7 separate regions of the Homo sapiens genome follow, and all the other regions are linked to region 7. Evidence: promoter capture Hi-C in 16 types of primary human blood cells and fetal thymus (Javierre and others, 2016). All regions are on one chromosome and are shown on one strand. The core of a region is centred on a gene start or on the middle of the fragment in contact, and the rest is flanking DNA. Distances in the headings are between cores, read along the strand shown. Region 1 overlaps ELOVL6 (ELOVL fatty acid elongase 6). Region 2 has its middle 3.4 kb from the start of PPA2. Region 3 has its middle 2.0 kb from the start of PLA2G12A. Region 4 holds the start of RRH (retinal pigment epithelium-derived rhodopsin homolog). Region 5 overlaps INTS12 (integrator complex subunit 12). Region 6 holds the start of TET2 (tet methylcytosine dioxygenase 2). Region 7 holds the start of PAPSS1 (3'-phosphoadenosine 5'-phosphosulfate synthase 1).

Region 1 (2,700 bases), core at 123-2,622, 2.5 Mb after region 7:
CACTGTTTTCCAGCCATTTTTCTTACAAATGAATGTAGAAGGTTGCAAGGAAGACTTCAGGAAGCAATTCAAAGCAATCCTCACTAAATGAAAAACAACAGCCAAATACTATGTCTGCATTTGAACAGTTTCATTAACATTATGCTGCTATATTTTTTATGCTGCTATATTTGAGTTAAATGCTAACACAGGTTTTTAGTGCTTTTTATGTTCTTTAATCATGAAATTGTACATCGTGTTACTTTCCAAACTTCACCTACAAAAAAGATATAGATGTACAACTCCTTTTAAAATGTTTCACGGCCGGTTGCAGTGGCTCAAGCCTGTTATCTCAGCACTTTCGGAGGCCGAGGTGGGCGGATTACTTGAGGTCAGGAGTTCAAGACCAACCTGACCAACACGGTGAATTCCCATCTCTACTAAAAATACAAAAATTAGCTTGGTGTCATGGCAGGCACCTGTAATCCCAGCTGCTTGGGAGGTTGAGACATAAGAATCACTGGAACCCGGAGGCAGAGGTTGCAGTGAGCCAAGATTGTGCCACTGCACTCCAGCCTGGGCAACAGAGTGAGACCCTGTCTCAAAAATAAAACAAAATAAAATAAAATGTTTCACTCCATTTTTACCTTTGGTAAAAACAAATTTGTGAATAAAAAGGCTTCCTCAGCTGAACAGCATTTAATTCTTAAAATTCCTATACTATCTTATAGACTCTATAATACAGAATACAAAATGTTAAAACAAGTAAACCCTTTTACACCACCAAGGGAGTGAGTGGGGAGAAAAGTCAGAAAAATATATAAAGCTTTGAAAGGCTGGATGTGTGGAGAATGCCAGGAGAGGGGGAGGGTTTCATGAAGTTCTAGGCAAGCCCTTTGAAGACGTCACCTCACATACATAATGTTACAGCAGTCAGCACAGGCCTCCTGCTTTCCTATTGGTGGGCACCGTGTCAGCCGACATCAGAAGATAATCATCATTGGCTAGACAATTACAACTGGAGCAACTAGCATCCACTGCTGTTAGCACAAACCTGGCAGGCTGCTGAAAGAGAAGGCAGAGAGAGCCCAGCTTCCCTTCTCACTCAATGAATTATATGTCGCCTTAGCAATCACCAGGTGATTTTGCTCCCTGGCTAGCAGCACTTCCAACTTAAGTCAGCTCTTAGTGAGAAAAACAGGTAAAGGCCAGACATCTCATAAAAGAGCAAAATGTCTCTATTTTCAATGTTGTAAAATTGCAAGGACTTTTCAGTGAAAATTAGAATTCAAAACTCCTATTTGGACCTATGAGCAGACATTTTTCTCTACCTCATGTAATAAACTCTCATTGACCAGATAATATAACCAGACAGGATATTTTTCACTGGACATGTAGTTTCAAGATGAGGCCCAGGATGATTCTACAAGGGAATACACTTATTACTTTGCATTTCAATTGCTATTCTAACCTATTATATATGAAACTTTTTGCTAGCAAAGTAAAAAAAGTCTGCAGTATTTACTTTCATGGCTAGGCCAATGAGTATGAGGTTAATGATTCATTAAAGCAGCAATAAACTTGAAAACTAGCCTCAGTTGAACCCTTTAGGGTTTATACAAATGCTACTCCAAAAGTCGGGCCCCATTCCATTAACACGTGCTATGGTTAGTAAGTATGGATTATAGGGTATGTTAACATTAATTTGCGCTATGGTTAGTAAGTATGGATTATAGCGTATGTTTAATAAAGTATTCTTATTTTAGGTCCTCTTAAATGATGCTAGTTAGCAAAGGCAGCATACTGGCAAAATACTACTCCTGGCCATTCTCACAGTTCTTCAAAAGCCAATGTAGTTCACTTTTGAGAGAGGATGTTTTAATTCTCTAAATTAACAAGTTTTGCCTGTTACTAAGAAGAGATTTATAAGGACAACCATAAATTCCCAAAAGACAGAGTAGAAGCTTCACTATATCATGTTTTTCCTCCAGAAGCTATTTCAAACCATTTTAAGTTAATGAGTCTGAAAAAGGTAAGATTTTATGGTTTCCTCAAGTTCCTCTCTCCTCAAGAGGGTCTAAGCCTTGGTTATGGAGTTCCCTTCTCCTATTAAAAAGGGAGTGAAAAGAAAATCTGGTTCAAGACTTTTTGTCCTGCATTAGCTGGATTCTATTAAAAATAAAAACTAAAAGCTTTAATTTGAACCTCCCGGGTTCAAGCAATTCTCCTGCCTCAACCTCCCGAGTAGCTGGGATTACAGGCACCCGCCACCACGCTCGGCTAATTTTTTTGTATTTTTAGTAGAGATGGGGTTTCACCATATTGGCCTGGCTGGTCTCGAACTCCTGTCGTCAGGTAATCCACCCACCTCAGCCTCCCAAAGTGCTGGGATTACAGGCAGGAGCCACCACACCCGGCTAATAAAATTAAATTTTAAAAAGTGTTTAAAGTCTTTTTGGCTGTACAGTTTTTGGGGAGGGAGGAGAGATAAAATTGGGCACCCTGGGATATTGGGAGAAATGCACAAAATCTGGCATTTAAAAAAAAACATGAAAGTAAGACAATTAGGGTCAGGAAGAGTTGCAAGGGAGGGGTAACAGCCAGCAGGGTTCTTTGACTGCAATAAGCAATCTAAGAACATAACATCAACAGAGAGCAGAAGCCAGGAAGGGAAAAATCCCAAGATGTGACTCTGCCACGGTATGCAAGTTCTAGCCTGTT
Region 2 (2,700 bases), core at 185-2,684, 2.2 Mb before region 7:
TCATTCTCTACAGTTTACTGGAATATTTGAGAATCAAAATTAAAAATGCATAATATAAATGATAGGAAATAATAATAGGTATCAGGTTAGCTTTTAAAACTTTTTAAAAATACTCTGAGGGTAATGTTTATTACATAATGTTTAATTATGTACTTATTCAAATTTAGACGTTTGGAGTCTAACACGTTGGATTTCCATTATTGACATCTCCTGTTGTCATCATATAGCAAGTAAAAGTCTTAGTCCCAGGAGTTTACAAGTTGGAGAATAAAGACAAATACACATAAAATCATGAAATAACATTTCCAGAGTTTATGAAATACCAAACCACCAGAGATTCATCAACAGAGAATTGAAACTGGTGGCTCAGGAAAACTATAACTAATATGTAGGAAGGACCAGAATAGAAAATAAGAGATACGGTGTCCAGGTATTGACAGTATCTCAGGTACCAAGTGACAAGGACCCAGACAGTAGTTCTGGCAATAGAAATAGAAAGGAATGTTGAATTTGGAAGAAATGACCAAATTTGATATCTCACTGGAAGTTGTGAAATGAGGATGGAAGAGTTAAAAAAAATTATGCATAATAAATAACCAAGAGATATGTGGTGTTATTTTCAGATATATGTTAATAAAAATGAGAGAGAAATTTTGACACTAAGATGATAAACGTAGCTGGGACATGTTAAGTTTGAAACAATGCAGAGTTCCTGCTGGAGATGGAACTATTTTCACCACTGGAATTCTCTGAGAAGCAGACTCTGAGATTGAATTTAGTATGTGTGTGCAGTGTTTATTAGGCTGTACACTTGGGATCAGTATGTGAAGATGAAGGTAAGAAAGCAAAAGAGCTGAGAGAGAAGTCGAGCTGTGGTGCAAGCCCAATAGCCTCAGCCCACCTCATAGAATACCCTGGAGTTTAAAAGGCTAGTTACAGTTGTCCAATGGAGAGCACAATTTGACGGGCCTTTATAACCTCAATGATTGGATGGATATAAGCTGACCTGGGAAAGGACATGATTTGGACAAGGCAGCTATGGCCATCCCTGAAGAAGCTGACAGATAAATGCTATTTGTTACCTGTACTCCCAACAGTTCAGCAAAAGTTCATTAAGCCATGGCACATCACAGTGACTACCACAACTGTGAAACTGCAGTAAAGATAATAGTTGGAACTAGAGAAAAATTATATAATTAGTGAATTCCAGTTCTGTTTCTGTTTTTAGTATTGGTAAGCATAACACAAAATCTACCATGATTATGGTTATTGTTTTTTGCAATGCTAGATTATCCTAATAGAAAATAAAATAATTTTGAAATTGTGGAGTACTCATTTATGTGTTTACTTTTATAAAAGCAGTAAATGTCCCTAAAACGAATTATTATTATTACCTACAACATGATAAATAAGCAAATTAAGAAATTTGCTAATTGCTCATCTTTGCTCACAATAGCTAGCTTGTGGGGGGAAAGAAATAGAGCAGTATGCAATAGAAGTAATGAGAATTTTAAAACAATTTTGAATATTTTCTAATTAATCAGTTCAGAGACACACAGACTGATATTTCACTAGCCTTTGGAAGACTTTAACCACAAGGGAGACTTTAAAAATAATTTTCACATTACCAAACATTTAAAATATTTGTCAAATTACAAGATTTCCACAATATTTCAGAATGTTACCTAAAGTTCATGTTCATCCGATATTCATCAACCACATTTTTTTCTAATAAATACATGTCACAGTTCTATACCATTTCTCATTTAAATACTGGCAATTATCTATTGATAAAATTATTTTCACAATTCAATGAAACTATAAGAGCTTGACTAACTTTAGGCCTTAAAATGTGTATAGGTGTGTATGTGTGTGTGTATTTTTATTGCTGTAGTTAATTTATTTTTCTTACTAAAACAATGATGCTTCAAGATGAGAAAACATGTCATAGACTGAAAGAAAATATTTGCAAAATATGTGTCTGATAAAGGACTATTATCAAAATATACAAAGAACTGTTGAAACTCAAGAAAAAGAAAACTAACCAATTTAAAAAATAGGCGAAAAGCCATCAGCAGTGGACTGGACAAACAAAATGTAGTACAGCTACACCATGGAATACTGTGCAGCCATAAAAAGAAGGAAATCATGTCCTTTGCAGCAACACAGATGGAAACCATTATCCTAAATCAATTAATGCAGGAACAATAACAACAACAAAAACAAATACTGCATGTCCTCATAAGTGAGAGCTAAACATTGAGTACACATGGACATAAAGAAGGGAATAACAGACATCAGCGCCTCTTTGAGAGTGGAGAGTGGATGGGAAGGTGAAACCCATAAACTACCTATCAGGCACTATTTCCTGGGTGATGAAATAATCTGTACACAAATCCCCATCTCACACACACACACACACACACACACACACACACACAGTTTTAATTTGTGACTGCCAAAATTTGGTGCAACCAGGATGTCCTTCATTAGGTGAATGGATAAACTATGGTACATTCAGACAATGAAATATTATTCAGCACTAAAAAGAAGTGAGCTATTAAGCCATGAAAAGACATGAATAAACCTTAAATTTATATTACTAAGTGAAGAAAACAAATCTAAAAGGCTACATACTGTATGATTCCAGCTGTATGACATTCTGGAAAAGGTTTAAGTGTGGAGACTGTAGAAGCCTCA
Region 3 (2,840 bases), core at 213-2,712, 2.0 Mb after region 7:
GCGGGATCTGGAAGATGCCAACCCATGCCTTGGCGGTGCCTGACTCTAATCAGGACGAGCTAAATGCTAGTTTAGACTTTCCGGAAAAAGAAAATGGGCCAACATAAAAATCATAAAATTCTCCCCTGGTAAGGAAGAAACAGTAGTGTAAACTTAAATACAGTAAAAAGTAAAATAAATCTTAAGGAAGTCATTGTTTTTCTACTCAAGGGATTTTGTAACTTGATAGTTACAGTGACGTTTGTTTCTCTGTACCTACCACCCTGCCCCCAGCATTGTGCGGGATCCATAAATAACTATTGCAGTAGTACTTTGTATCAGTTGTAAATATCTGGTTATCTTAGTATCACAGCAGTTTCCAAGAATTTTACAGTAAGATCCAGAGCAATGTTGAAAGTATTGGGCAGACCAAGCGCGGTGGTTTACGCCTGTAATCCCAGCACCTTGGGAGGCCTGGAACTCCTGAGGTCAGAAGTTCGAGACCAGCCTGGCTGACATGGTGAAACCCCATCTCTACCAAAAATACAGAAAATTAGCTGGGCGTGGTGGCGGGCACCTGTAATCCCAGCTACTCGGGAGGCGGAGGCAGGAGAATCACTTGAACCCAGGAGGTGGATGGATGTTGCAGTGAGCTGAGATTGCACCACTGCACTCCAGCTTGGGGCACAGAGCGAGACTCTAAAAAAAAAAGAAAGTGAGTAAGTATTGGGCATAGGTGTGTCCTTTCTATAAGAATTACCAATAAGTTCTAGGTTTGGCCTTTTGTGTTTGTTACAAACTAAATGAGCTTATAATAAACGTTCAGTGCACAGTTCATAAAAATTACATCCCTCTTTATTGAGTGCTTACTATGTGCCAGGCACTTCATGAATATGATCGCTCACATTCAGAACACTACTTTACAAGGATGCAGACTTTGGGCAAGTTAGAAACATAGAAAGGCATTCCTCCCTACAAACAGGGTAGCCCAACAAACGGTGTAGCTCCTGGCTGGAGACTGCCTGCACTTCACTCAGCCCCTCAACCAGGAGTCTTGGGCAGTGATTAATTCCTACCACAATGGAGAAGGGGGAAGAATGTTCCCTGGAAGGTATTATTATCTTCCTCTTTTACAATAAAAGAGTCGAGGTGAGAAGTCATGTGACAGTATCTACTCCAAACCAAGGCCTCTGTCTTCACAAAATACCACAGATATTTTTATTTTTTAATTTTTAGACAACACATTTCAATACATTTTAAAAAGGGAACTTAGAATCATTGTCTTAGCTTTCTGGAACATTGGTTTCTCAGCTCCAAAGTATGAAAGTTGGACTAGATTACCTCTGAGATACCACCACCTGAATCCTTAAACCAGGCTTGGTTCTTACAACTCCCTAGTCCAGGGACAAGACTTTCAAAAGAAAGGATAGAATGTAATAAAATAACCTAGTTCCAGCCCTCAGTTATGACCCAAAGCCTCTCCTTTCCCCCACTTTCTCTATTTATTTACTTCTTTGTGATCTCATCTAATTTCTTACACCTTAACTACAGCCTATACTCTGAGGAATCAGACGTAGTTTTCTTTGTCTGATCTCTCCTTAGGGATTAAATTCTCAAATGCCAGTTCTTCTGGCTTGATGCAGCTGTTCTCTTTCTCTCAAGCAAATCTTTCCACTGTCTTCCCCATGAGAATCACCACCATTTTTGTAGAAAACAAGACTCTAAGTTTTATTTTCACATTCTTTTCACATTTAATCATTATATATTTGTTGTTCTGCTGCAGTAATTACAAGGTTTACGTTTTCCTCTTAATTGATGCTGTTAAATACCAGGGATCTGCACTGACCACAGACTATCTGTATAATTTGTAGGGCTCAGTGCAAAATAAAAATACAGAGCCCCTTGCTCAAAAATTAAGAATTTCAAGGTGATGGCCGGGTGCGGTGGCTCACGCCTGTAATCCCAGCACTTTGGGAGGCTGAGATGGGCAGATCACGAGGTCAGGAGATCGAGACCATCCTGGCTAACACGGTGAAACCCTGTCTCTACTAAAAATACAAAAAGTTAGCTGGGCATGGTGGCGGGCACCTGTAGTCCCAGCTACTCGGGAGGCTGAGGCAGGTGAATGGCGTGAACCCGGGAGGCAGAGCTTGCAATGAGCCAAGATCGTGCCACTGCACTCCAGCCGAGGCCACAGAGCAAGACTCTGTCTCAAAAAAAAAAAAAAAAGAATTTCAAGGTGATAACAGCAGAGCATTAAAATAAGTACAGAGCCCTTTTGACTGTGGGGCCTTGTGCCACTACACAGGATGCATGCTCTGATTTACCATATCATATAAATTTTTTTTTTTTGAGTCTGGCTCTGTTGCCCAGGCTGGAGTACAGTGGCACAATCTCAGCTCACTGCAACCTCCGCCTCCCAGGTTCAAGCTATTTTCCTGCCTCAGCCTCCCGAGTAGCTGGGATTACAGGTGCCCGCCACCACACCTGACTAATTTTTTGTATTTTTAGTAGCAATGGGGTTTCACCAAGTTGGCCAGGCTGGTCTCGAACTCCTGACCTCAAGTCATTCCCCTGCCTTGGCCTCCCAAAGTGCTGGGATTACAACATGAGCCACTGTGCCCAGCTCATCTCACGTAACTTCTAGATGACCCACTTCCATCTTTTCTTCCCAAATTTTGGCATAAACTGTTTGAAAAGAGCCTTCTTTACAGGACACTTTCATCTAACCAGCAAAACCTGTTATTTTCATGACAGACATCATTAGTTGCAAATCCACAGCTGTGTTCCAGGTCTTTCCTGCTAGAGAGTGGCTAGCTTGTCTATATATACTTTGTGGTGGGCAGAAGCTGAAGATAGGA
Region 4 (2,748 bases), core at 69-2,568, 2.1 Mb after region 7:
ATACATAGGCCATTAATATATATGATGAGCAAATGTGTTGAAAATTACAGTTTTTACAGGAATAGGCAGTTATGCTTTTACAGCTTAGGACAGGAGATTATTTGATTTGGAATTGTGGTGATGAAATTTTCATGGAGTGTTAGGGCCAGGGCTTTTGCTCGTGGTTTGGAAAAGATGTTAGTAAGCACCAAAGGGTGATGGCATTGTCCCAAGGACAAATAATAATAGCGCAACATTTCTACAGTTTGTTTTTTTAACATTAAAAATAAATCTAAAATGGCAATAATGGAAATAACATATAGATCAGTAGACAAACCAGTTGGAAATTTTACCGTTTAGCTTATGTATATCTTTTTTTCATTGTCCATCTTTAAGCTTTTATTTCCACATCTTTTCCTTTTTTTTCCTTATAGTTTCTGGGTTTATTTATTTGTTTATTTATTATTATTATTTTTTGAGACGGAGTTTTGTTCTTGTTGCCCAGGCTGGAGTGCAATGGTGCAATGTCGGCTCACTGCAACCTCTACCTCCCGGGTTCAAGCGATTCTCCTGCCTCAGCCTCCCAAGTAGCTGGGATTACAGGCATGCGCCACCATGCCCGGCTAATTTTGTATTTTTAGTAGAGATGGGGTTTCTCCATGTTGGTCAGGCTGGTCTCGAATTCCTGACCTCAGGTGATCCGCCTGCTTTGGCCTCCCAAAGTGCTGGGATTACAGGTGTGAGCCACTGCGCCTGGCCTAGTTTCTGGGTTTTTTTGAGGCATTTCATTTTGAATCAAATTCACATGTATTTCTAAGCCTTATCCCAATATAGCTTTTCTGTATCACCCATGAAGGAAGCATAAAAAAGAACTTCAAATGCACCTACCTCACTCATATCAAAACTTTCATCTGCAGCAGAAAGCTGACTATCTGAAATTATATATTTTTCAGTTCTTAGAAATAATTATTTCTGGAAAATTTTTCATGGATGCTACAACTAGGTATAACTTATTACAGAAAAGGAAGGTAGTATGACCCAAAGCAAATTCAAAAATTTTAAGTTTTGTTTTGCATATTGAATGAAAGAAAAGACAAAGACTTTTTAAAGGGAGTGATTTCCTCTTGGGTATTATGTTTTTTGCTCTAGGGTCATTTGAAAACAATACTGACGAGATTCGCTTTTCTAGTATAGGTATAACAATATTACATTTATAAAAATGTGAGTACTGGTAGCTATAAGATTTGGGACAGATAAATCAACCTGTTCATCTTGAGTTTATACACAGGCAAGAGAACTGAAGCAAAAGGATTATCTTAGGTTTCTGCTGTGCCATTCTAGGATTTTTATAAAATTAAACTAAGTGGGTAAATATAGCCCTCTAGTGGTTCTGTTTTATGCTTACACTGTTAACTTTGGTGCATCTAAGCATTTCTCTAATGTTTACTGATTTTAGGAAACTGAGGAGAATCAGATTTTAATAATGTTAATGGCATAAAGAATATGGGAAAAAAGGTAATAGGGATACCTTATTATTCTAACAAAACATGCTCAGGTTGGTTTTCAGGTTGTAATGTGATAATCCAGAATATTTTTATTCTGTACTTTACAATATCAGTGATTGAATTCAGATACTCTGGCAAAGTATACAATGATTACTATCATCAGATAATATTAATTACTCATGTGCATATCAAACTATAGGGGAAATTAACGGATGGTGGAGTTGATCATATTATATCCATGCTATGAAATACATAGCTACTAATAAATTAGACTTTATTAGATTCTGGGTTTATTAACTTGGATATTATAATACAGCCTTATGGGAAAACAAGTTGCATTATATATATACATTTGTACTTATTTTTTTCCCTCATTTTTATTTACAAGAAGAAAGTGGAGGAAACCTGAAACACTTGTATGAATATGTGTATAAGCAGAGAAAAGCCTAAGAAAGGATATGCACCAAACAATACTGGTACCTTTAGGAGAGTGAGATTTGGAAGTAGGAAGGAGACTACTTCTTTGTCACTAATATTTAAATTGTTAAGAAAAAAAAAACAACAAAAGGAGCCGAAATGGAAAGACTTGAATGGTCAACAGAAAACAGGGACCTTAATCCGAATAGTTTTAGAGGACTAAGGCTGGCTCCTATACTGATTTCCTGAGTTTGTTTATTGTTAAATGGGATGTGTGTGCTTGATAATCTCCTTAGATAGAAGACTGATGCCCAAATAGGTTAAAATGTGTGGTGCTTGGTATTTCTTTTTGTTTTGCTAATAAGCTTTTCCCTTATTCTGGGAATTAAAGTCCTTTCCTCTTTAGCCCAATTAAATTTGTTAAGGGAGGGCCTCTATGAAAAGGCCCTTCTTTGAGGTCTCTAAGTGGAAATGATTGGTCCTAAAAAATCTTTCCTCAGTAGCTCATAAAGCAGTTCATAATTATCGAAGGCTTATTATGAAGGGTGTTTCGGTATCTTCCCTCCAAAATGCTAAGAAATAATTTAGGCAACAGTTCAGACTCTAAAAATGAAGATGGCTCGGTCTTTTCACAGACTGAACACAATATTGTTGCAACTTACTTGATTATGGCAGGTATGGATATTTAAGTAAGTTATTTTTCTTTAGAATGGGTGAAGAAAGGCAGAAGTTTTCAGCATAAGGCATGCATTGTTTCAAGTTCCATATTATTGGCCAACCTTGACAAGTCATTTATCCTGACTTGGCTTGCTCGTTGGTAAATGAGGATGATGATACTCTATTTCTG
Region 5 (2,700 bases), core at 15-2,514, 2.0 Mb before region 7:
ATATTTTATATTTTAGTTTTCTATCTTACCTTTACTCCCCCTTTTCTGTTGCCTTCTCTAATCTCTGTTACTTTTCCTTCCTTACCGGCAAATATCCATATAGTGAAAGAAGTTTACTTTCTACAGCAGTCATAAAGAGGTCAGCAACTTGGTGTAACTGTGTTGATCTACACATACAAAAATATTTTCCTGGAGTTACACCAAATCATGTTACTTCTATACAATTCCTTTCCTGTATATTCATTCCTAAACCCATGGCCAAAACAGACTGCAAAAGAGCCATATCATTCTTACTATGGATTAGAGTTCTAGAAAACAAAGTCCTGTGTGTGTGTATGAAAGAAAAATGTATATATGAAAGATATTTAATATATTAAATGTAGGTTTCATTTAAAAAGTAGATGTTGCTTTCAAAAAGGAGAATGTGAGAAAATTAATATTTACCACTTTAAAGCTTTCGCTGACCTAGGGAAGTGGTAGTAGTAGTATTGATAGGAGTGAATTCTTAGGTGATGCTGGGAATTAGCTGTGTCAAATGCATATAGCACAAAAATCGCCATTACTGAACAATGATCTTTTTTCTGTATCTCTTATTATCCTTGATTTATTGCAGTATGCCGTTTACTTCCTATCCAGCTCACATTCTGTGGTCCACCCTTTCAATACCTCTTTCAGTACTCTAGGCACCCGAAAGCCCTGTAGTTTCCCTACTTTATAGACATCCACCCTGCTAGCCATTCTCTCTCTGCCTGCACCCAAACTCTAAGTGCAACTGGGAGGAATATACATACATTCTATCTTCAGAATCACCATTCTCAGCTTGGCGTTCAGTACAACTTGGCAATTCTCTCATCCTTCTCTGGTCAACTCACTTCCCCACTTTCTGCAAAGATCAGTTATACTTCCTCCATTTTCTTTTAAAATTGCTTCTGTGTTTCAGTAGATGGCCTCACCTACTTCACAAAGAGAGGCTGTCAGAGAGGAATTAAGTCGACTTCCTTCCAGCACATCTACAAACTTACCTGCACTCATCCTTTCCTCTTTCCCATCTGATAAAAAAGGAGAAGGTAGCTCTCTATGTAGTGTCACCTGGATCTGGATCCTATCTCTTCTTGTCCCCTCTTGAACCTTGGCCTATGGATTATTTCCCATATCTTCTTTTTTTTTTTTTCAGCCTTTCTACTGGCATCTTTTCATTGACATTAAATATATTCAAACATCTTCTATCTTTTCTCTTTTATAGCAAAACGTTCTCAGAAATCATATGCTTTTGTACTCTTTTTCTTCATTCCTTCTATTTACACAGCAATTCTTGCAATTCAGCCTTTGTCCCACTATTCCATGAAAATGCTCTCATGAGTCATTCGCCGCCTCAGTCAGGTAAACCTAATACATACGATTGTCCCTCCTACTTCTTTGTCAGTCATCTTTGTAGGTTCCTCCTATCCAATTAAAAATGAGTTCCTCAGTGCTAGGTTCTGGGTCTCTTCTTGACTTGTTCTACATCTTCTTCCAAAAATGTGTTCTCTGAGTCAGCAGCATAGGTATCACGTCAGAACTTAGAAATACAAACTCTTGGTCTCCATTCCTAGGCCTACTGAAGAAAAAACTCTGGGAGTAGGGTCTAGAAATCTGTGTTAAGCCTTCCAGGCAATTCTATCTACTCTAAAGTTTGGGAATTATTGCCCTAGACAATTTGATCTATATAGTCTTTTGCCAGTGATTACTAATACATCTCTGCAGTCCATGTGTCTCTCCCAAGATCCAACTGCCAGCTTGACATGGATATATCATTGGTGCCTCCTATGCAACGTGTCTCCAACAGAGCCACTCATACACTATTCCCTTTTCTCCTAACCAGTTCTTCCTCTAGTAATCCCTTTTTCAAATGATATTTACCCTATTGCCCAAGCCAGTAACCCAGAAGCAGCTTTAACTCTTCCCACTTCCTTAATTCCCACCCCCAATTCAATAACCAAACCTCTTAAACATACCTCAAATCTATCCACCCTTTTCAATCCTTACTACTACCACCCTAGACCAACCTAGCATCATCTATTATCTGGCCCACTGCAAAAGCTTAATCAGTCTCCCACAATCACTCTTGTCATCCCTTTAAACCTTTTCATATCACTCACTTGCTTAAAATCCTTTTATCACTTCTCACAATCCAAAGGTTCAAGAATAAGATTCTTAACAAGGTCTCCAATTCTCTACATCAGGGGTCCCTAACCTTCAGGCCATGCAGCAGGAGGTGAGCAGTAGGCAAGCGAGGGAAGCTTCATTTGTATTTACAGCCACTCCCATCACTTGCATTACTACCTGAGCTCTGCCTCCTGTCACATCACTGGTGGAATTAGATTCTCATAGGAATGCGAATCCTATGTGAACTGTGCATGTGTGTGATCTACGTTGTGTGCTCCTCATGAGAATCTAATGCCTGATGATCTGTCACAGTATACCCCATCATCCCCAGATGAAACCGTCTAGCTGCAGGAAAGCAAGCTCAAGGTTCCCACTGATTCTACATTATGGTGAGTTGTCCAATTATTTTATTATATATTACCATGTAGTAATAAGAGAAATAAAGTGCACAATAAATGTAATGCACTTGAATCATCCTGAAACCATGTCTTCAATGAAACTGGTCCCTGGTGCCAAAAAGGTTGTGGACCATTGCTCTACATGATTAATAATACA
Region 6 (2,700 bases), core at 27-2,526, 2.6 Mb before region 7:
AAAACTCCGGTCAAAGGAAGAGCATAGTTACAGAGCTCCGAATGTCAGGGAAAATCAAGCATCCGTCATTCGGAATTAGCTCTGTATCGGTCGGTTTCTTCATTACTTAATTGTACGGGGGGAAACTACTTCAAAGTAAGGGCTCTTACGAGAGGCAACTTAAGCATTTGAAAGTGCAGGTTTATTTCCTCCTAGCGAGAAGTAGGGGGTCACTAGTGAGAAACCTATTTCAATCTGTGAGACGCCCCCTTCTACTCAGCCCACGTGGCTAAAGTAAACAGAAGGTGGGCCGGGGCGGGGAGAAACAGAACTCGGTCAATTTCCCAGTTTGTCGGGTCTTTAAAAATACAGGCCCCTAAAGCACTAAGGGCATGCCCTCGGTGAAACAGGGGAGCGCTTCTGCTGAATGAGATTAAAGCGACAGAAAAGGGAAAGGAGAGCGCGGGCAACGGGATCTAAAGGGAGATAGAGACGCGGGCCTCTGAGGGTAAGGTGGGCGCAAGCGGAGGTGTGGTGCGGGGAGAGGTGCCAGTGGGTGGAGGCGGGGGCCAGAGCGAGGGCACGTGCGGGTACACTCCGGAGGAGGTGGGTGCGCGCGGGGGCGTGTGCGCGGGACCTCGAAGTGGTGGTGGAGTGCAGACCAGCAAAAAGTTTCAAAGGGAAATCTTAGATGTCACGTCTTTGTCCAGGCACCCGTGCCATCCCAACCTCCCACCTCGCCCCCAACCTTCGCGCTTGCTCTGCTTCTTCTCCCAGGGGTGGAGACCCGCCGAGGTCCCCGGGGTTCCCGAGGGCTGCACCCTTCCCCGCGCTCGCCAGCCCTGGCCCCTACTCCGCGCTGGTCCGGGCGCACCACTCCCCCCGCGCCACTGCACGGCGTGAGGGCAGCCCAGGTCTCCACTGCGCGCCCCGCTGTACGGCCCCAGGTGCCGCCGGCCTTTGTGCTGGACGCCCGGTGCGGGGGGCTAATTCCCTGGGAGCCGGGGCTGAGGGCCCCAGGGCGGCGGCGCAGGCCGGGGCGGAGCGGGAGGAGGCCGGGGCGGAGCAGGAGGAGGCCCGGGCGGAGGAGGAGAGCCGGCGGTAGCGGCAGTGGCAGCGGCGAGAGCTTGGGCGGCCGCCGCCGCCTCCTCGCGAGCGCCGCGCGCCCGGGTCCCGCTCGCATGCAAGTCACGTCCGCCCCCTCGGCGCGGCCGCCCCGAGACGCCGGCCCCGCTGAGTGATGAGAACAGACGTCAAACTGCCTTATGAATATTGATGCGGAGGCTAGGCTGCTTTCGTAGAGAAGCAGAAGGAAGCAAGATGGCTGCCCTTTAGGATTTGTTAGAAAGGAGACCCGACTGCAACTGCTGGATTGCTGCAAGGCTGAGGGACGAGAACGAGGTCAGAGCGCTTCTCTTATGCCGCGAAACTCTCCCTTTCTTCTCCCCTTCGCTTTTTCTCGGGCTTCCAGGGACTGGGGAGCAAACCCTGTAGTGTCACCCACAAATACCAAGAGGGAAGAGGGAAGCTTCACAAATTACTGGAGCCTCTTCAACATGGCTGACAAATATAGTTTTAATTCCCTCTACCCCTTTTAAACCTGTAGTTCTGTGTTCTCTTCTCTCCTCCTAATGCTCGTCCCCTCATCTCCCAGAAAACTTACCTTTGTGCCTCCGACGAGCCGGTTTCCCGGCCTTTTTTAATCCTCAGAAAAGTGATTTTTAAATTTGCTTTCCTTTCTAAAATAGTTCAGCTTTGGGGGCACTACTTTTCCCTTTAATCCTCTTCCCCTGTTTCTTTCGTGTAAGTGAAACGAGTCTCCCGTTTATCCTGAACAACCTCAGAGAGAACACTGATAGGGTGTTTTTCGACCCTTTTATCAGCTGTAGGGTCTGGGTCTGGGTTTGTGTCTGCCTCCTCCTACCTTCTTATCCCCCTTTAGGGGGCTGTACGAAGTGAATGTCACAGGGAGTGGAATTGGAGTACACTGAGTGGGTTTTTTTTTTCCTTAAGTCCGCGCGTTTTGTTAGCGGCGCTGAGTGAAAGAGGAAAGAATAGTTTCTCTGGTTCCCCAAACAAGACCAGAACTCACTTTTCTCAAGGTACATAAGTCAGCGCTGGGCTGAGCCTTCCAGCCTGGGGAATGTATGTAAGAGAATTTATGGACAAATCTGTGTCCCGGCTTTGTGCTTCTCCCGAATCAGCTTCGTTTGGTTCCTTGGTAAGTGACAGGCAGACACAAAGGCAGGCGCAGGCCCGGGGAGGGGGCGGGAGGGGGTGGGGAGCGCAGCGTTGGAGTTGCAAGACTGCAAGGTCAGGGGCGCCTAAAGAAATGAAACCCAATCCCAGCAAAGAAGTGAAGAGCAGATTTATAACAGTCCCATCCAAATTTCTCTTTGGCTTCTCTCTTTGGTCTTTCATCTCTCTGCCTTTCTCTCTGTGTCTCCTCTCTACTCTTTCTTCTCTCTCTCTCATACACATACACACACACACACACACACACACCTCACTCGCATCTTGCTGAATCTTTTCACTGGGACTGCTTGTCTAGTTTTATTAAGCTAATAGGGTTTGTATGGAGAGTTTTCTACCTATGACATAATGAAGTGTGGCCTGGATAGACTCCTGGAAAGGCCGAAAATGAAATATAAGTGTTATTTGCTGGTTATTCCCCTCATGATATACTTTTAATTACATTGAGGGAGTTCTCCCTTCTTCATC
Region 7 (2,700 bases), core at 3-2,502:
TAAATGGCAAAGCTGGGATGAGAGACCAGGCCAGGAGTCCAGCGCTCTTTCCACTGTTCTAATTCATCTTTTAAATCTCCTTCCCCTCCTTACCATCTATAGAGTTAAATAAAAGGAGAGAGGAATCAGTAAACAACTCATGATAACAATAACAACAGATGTGGTAAATTAATGACTTCCAAAGAACATTTGCCTGAAATTGCTTGTTTTTTTTTTCTTTGATTCATCTAGGGCAAGTAACGTTTTGGGAGACATTGCATTTAAACCTTATTATTCCATTGGACTGTGAAATAACGTTTCCGTCTAAACTTAAACCAGTGCCTTTCCAGACTCCAAAGATGGGCCCTTCCCTGCTGCACACTTACAAAGGAAGATAAGGCTCTTTCTCATCACAGAGAAATTAAGGAAGTAAGCAACGTTATGAGGACACAGCACTTTACAAAGTCAACTGGCAGTCATTACTAAACGTTATAAAGGACTGGTCCCATACCTGACTGTCACCAGGAATGGAGTCTTCCAAACTCCTACTTGTTAAACATTCCGATTTAACACAGAGACACAAAGAACCTCAGTTCAGGGCAGTCTCAACTCATGAATGACCACATTGTTGGGTACTCTCCTTTCACACTGAAACTCAGAAATGGAAAGACACGGAGATGGACCCAAACCTGGGCCAACCGCACTGGCAGAGCCAAGAAAAACCAAGAACGCGTCGAAGGCGCCCGCCTCCGCCTTCTCTGCACATCTTCAGGCCACTCCAAGGTATGCAGGAAGCTCCTGTTTCTGCAGCCGCAGGTTTCAGCACCCGGAGGTTTCAGCAAGCGCCAGTTCACGGGTGAAGGATTTTCCTGGGGGTCTTACCTGAGCGGAGGCGCTGGGGAGGGGGGGCGTTCTTCCCACGAACGGTGGCTCGGACCGCACGCTGCGCCAAGCTAGGGCGAGATCCCCACCCTGCGCCGCGCCCCTCTGCCTCGCAACCACCCACGGCCCCAGCCGGGAGGCGCCGCAGCCCCGGAACCCACCTCCGCGCTCCTGGAAGGATGGATGCGGAGGAGGCGGGAGAGAGGCGGCGGCTCCGGAACGAGCTGCTCCCACAGCCCCTCCGCTCCTCGCCGTCTCGCCTTCGTCCCCAGCTTACCCAGTTCTGCGCGTTATTGCTCAGTTTGACTTTCTTGCACAGGCTCCCGGGGATCTCCATGACCGCGGAGCGCGCTGAGCAGCCGGGGTTCTCTGCGCCGGGAGGGTAGCAAGAGGAGGGCAGGCCAGCGAGCGGGGCGGGGCTGGAGGGCGGGGCCTCCTCGCGTCGGAGCGGGCGCGCGCTGACTTAAGCACGCGCCCGTGCTCGTGGCCTGGGTTGCGCGGCGCATGCGGCGCGCCTCGGAAATGGGTCCGGGGCAGAGGTCTGTGGGGAAGGGCGAAACGCCGGGATAGAACCGGAGGTAGAAGCTGGGGGCGGAGCTTCAGCGCTCGCGCCGGCGCGGGCGCGCACGGCGCTCCTCCTTCCAGATCCCGATGAAGGGGCGGGGCCTGGAATGCAGTCGTGGAACCTCAGGTGCCTCTGCGGCACCGAGCCTAGCTCTGAGCTAACGCAGATCTCTAAGAGCGAGTACCAGCCGCCGGGAGAAAGGCAAGGGGAGTGCGCGGCTCGCCGCGCGCGGCACTCCCTCAGCAGAGGCTGATTGGGAGGACGCTGACGCGGCCTCTTGCACCTGTGGCTACTCCTCCACAGACCTGGCTGCCGACCTCCTGTCTGCCCCTTCTGTGCCCATGTCACCCTGGCCAAATGTTTTAAATGTTTTACAGCTTTGCAAAGGGAAGAATTGATTTACCGAACAGCTCATTCTCCACATTAAAATTCTACTCAAGACACAATTTTTTTTCTTTTTTTGAGACGGAGTCTTGCTCTGTCGCCCAGGCTGGAGTGCAGTAGTAGGATCTCGGCTCACCGCAACCTCTGCCTCCCGGGTTCAAGCGATTCTCCTGCCTCAGCCTCCCGAGTAGCTGGGACTACAGGCGTGTGCCACCACGCCCGGCTAATTTTTGTATTTTTAGTAGAGACGGGGTTTCACTATGTTGGCCAGGCTGGTCTCGAATTCCTGACCTCATGATCCGCCCGCCTCAGCTTCCCAAAGTGCTGGGATTCCAGGCGTGAGCGACAGCGCCTGGCCTCAAGACACAGTTTTTAAAAAGATATAATAAAAGCCCGATTTCTTGACATCAATAATTAATATCTCAACCTGGATTAGTGATTACTTATAAGGTGCCTCCCTCTCCGCTAGGAGACCCCACTTCGCATCAGATTTCTGTGCAGTGCTTCTTACCGACCTACACCGGAAAGGGGCTTCTGTATTATTAAGAGCTACTCAGGAAATACCTAGAGGACTGAAATCCAGGACCGGGGAGGCCGCAGGTAACCCCGAATAGAACTCCCGCCTACGGAGGACATTTTCAAATTCACCTAATTATTCCAGGGCTAGTTCGTAGGAGGATGGGCTGGGGGCATGACAGAGTTTCCTCCAGGAGTTATCTTCCCCACACCCCCCATAACTCTGAGTTCTCTTTTCCGCAGCTTGCCCCTGGCACCAAAAGAGTTGCTTGCAGCTCTGCCCCCCTGTGACACAGCCGCCCTCCGCCCCTGACCCCGCCCATCACCAAGACCTGAGACTGCTGCCTGTTAGTGACTAGCAAATTAGCCCCCAT

Evidence for each region. The method cuts DNA at HindIII sites, captures the fragments that hold promoters and counts their contacts. A CHiCAGO score of 5 or more calls a contact.
Region 1: a contact is called between a fragment that was not itself captured here and the fragment with the promoter of PAPSS1 in region 7, in 6 of 17 cell types (naive CD4 T cells, naive CD8 T cells, non-activated CD4 T cells and 3 more). The highest score is 7.2, in naive CD4 T cells.
Region 2: a fragment that was not itself captured here is called in contact with the fragment with the promoter of PAPSS1 in region 7 in 1 of 17 cell types (total B cells); the score reaches 5.9 in total B cells.
Region 3: a fragment that was not itself captured here is called in contact with the fragment with the promoter of PAPSS1 in region 7 in 8 of 17 cell types (non-activated CD4 T cells, naive CD8 T cells, activated CD4 T cells and 5 more); the score reaches 16.2 in non-activated CD4 T cells.
Region 4: a fragment that was not itself captured here is called in contact with the fragment with the promoter of PAPSS1 in region 7 in 2 of 17 cell types (non-activated CD4 T cells and naive CD8 T cells); the score reaches 6.9 in non-activated CD4 T cells.
Region 5: a fragment that was not itself captured here is called in contact with the fragment with the promoter of PAPSS1 in region 7 in 2 of 17 cell types (total B cells and naive CD8 T cells); the score reaches 7.0 in total B cells.
Region 6: a contact is called between the fragment with the promoter of TET2 here and the fragment with the promoter of PAPSS1 in region 7, in 3 of 17 cell types (total CD4 T cells, naive CD4 T cells and total CD8 T cells). The highest score is 6.1, in total CD4 T cells.

The regions. Positions count from the first base shown.
Region 1 is chr4:110,193,022-110,195,721 of GRCh38, forward strand. All of the region lies in intron 1 of ELOVL6 (ELOVL fatty acid elongase 6), which reads right to left. Among named protein-coding and RNA genes, the nearest start is that of ELOVL6, 4.2 kb to the right of the region's middle. The HindIII fragment of the contact is 1,138 bases long and covers 804-1,941 here.
Region 2 is chr4:105,476,098-105,478,797 of GRCh38, forward strand. No RefSeq gene overlaps it. Among named protein-coding and RNA genes, the nearest start is that of PPA2, 3.4 kb to the left of the region's middle. The HindIII fragment of the contact is 4,302 bases long and covers 1-2,700 here.
Region 3 is chr4:109,730,665-109,733,504 of GRCh38, forward strand. It overlaps a transcript of CFI not described here. Among named protein-coding and RNA genes, the nearest start is that of PLA2G12A, 2.0 kb to the left of the region's middle. RefSeq lists an enhancer at 1-400. The HindIII fragment of the contact is 3,342 bases long and covers 1-2,840 here.
Region 4 is chr4:109,825,558-109,828,305 of GRCh38, forward strand. It overlaps RRH (retinal pigment epithelium-derived rhodopsin homolog), which reads left to right and starts at 2,415. Exons shown (of 7, transcript NM_006583.5): 1 at 2,415-2,576. The coding sequence starts at 2,471. The HindIII fragment of the contact is 1,891 bases long and covers 374-2,264 here.
Region 5 is chr4:105,702,857-105,705,556 of GRCh38, forward strand. It overlaps INTS12 (integrator complex subunit 12), which reads right to left. Exons shown (of 8, transcript NM_020395.4): 2 at 792-953. It overlaps LOC124900748 (a long non-coding RNA gene), which reads left to right. Exons shown (of 3, transcript XR_007058215.1): 2 at 2,458-2,534. Among named protein-coding and RNA genes, the nearest start is that of INTS12, 4.5 kb to the right of the region's middle. The HindIII fragment of the contact is 1,625 bases long and covers 453-2,077 here.
Region 6 is chr4:105,145,600-105,148,299 of GRCh38, forward strand. It overlaps TET2 (tet methylcytosine dioxygenase 2), which reads left to right and starts at 1,277. Exons shown (of 11, transcript NM_001127208.3): 1 at 1,277-1,380. It overlaps LOC124900868, which reads right to left. Exons shown (of 3, transcript XM_047416559.1): 2 at 1-1,362. The coding sequence ends at 674. RefSeq lists silencers at 539-1,218, 2,182-2,251 and enhancers at 1,289-1,458, 1,802-1,851. The HindIII fragment of the contact is 4,110 bases long and covers 1-1,505 here.
Region 7 is chr4:107,718,982-107,721,681 of GRCh38, forward strand. It overlaps PAPSS1 (3'-phosphoadenosine 5'-phosphosulfate synthase 1), which reads right to left and starts at 1,253. Exons shown (of 12, transcript NM_005443.5): 1 at 1,139-1,253. The coding sequence starts at 1,198. RefSeq lists enhancers at 506-565, 2,556-2,700 and a silencer at 1,196-1,445. The HindIII fragment of the contact is 5,198 bases long and covers 1-2,700 here.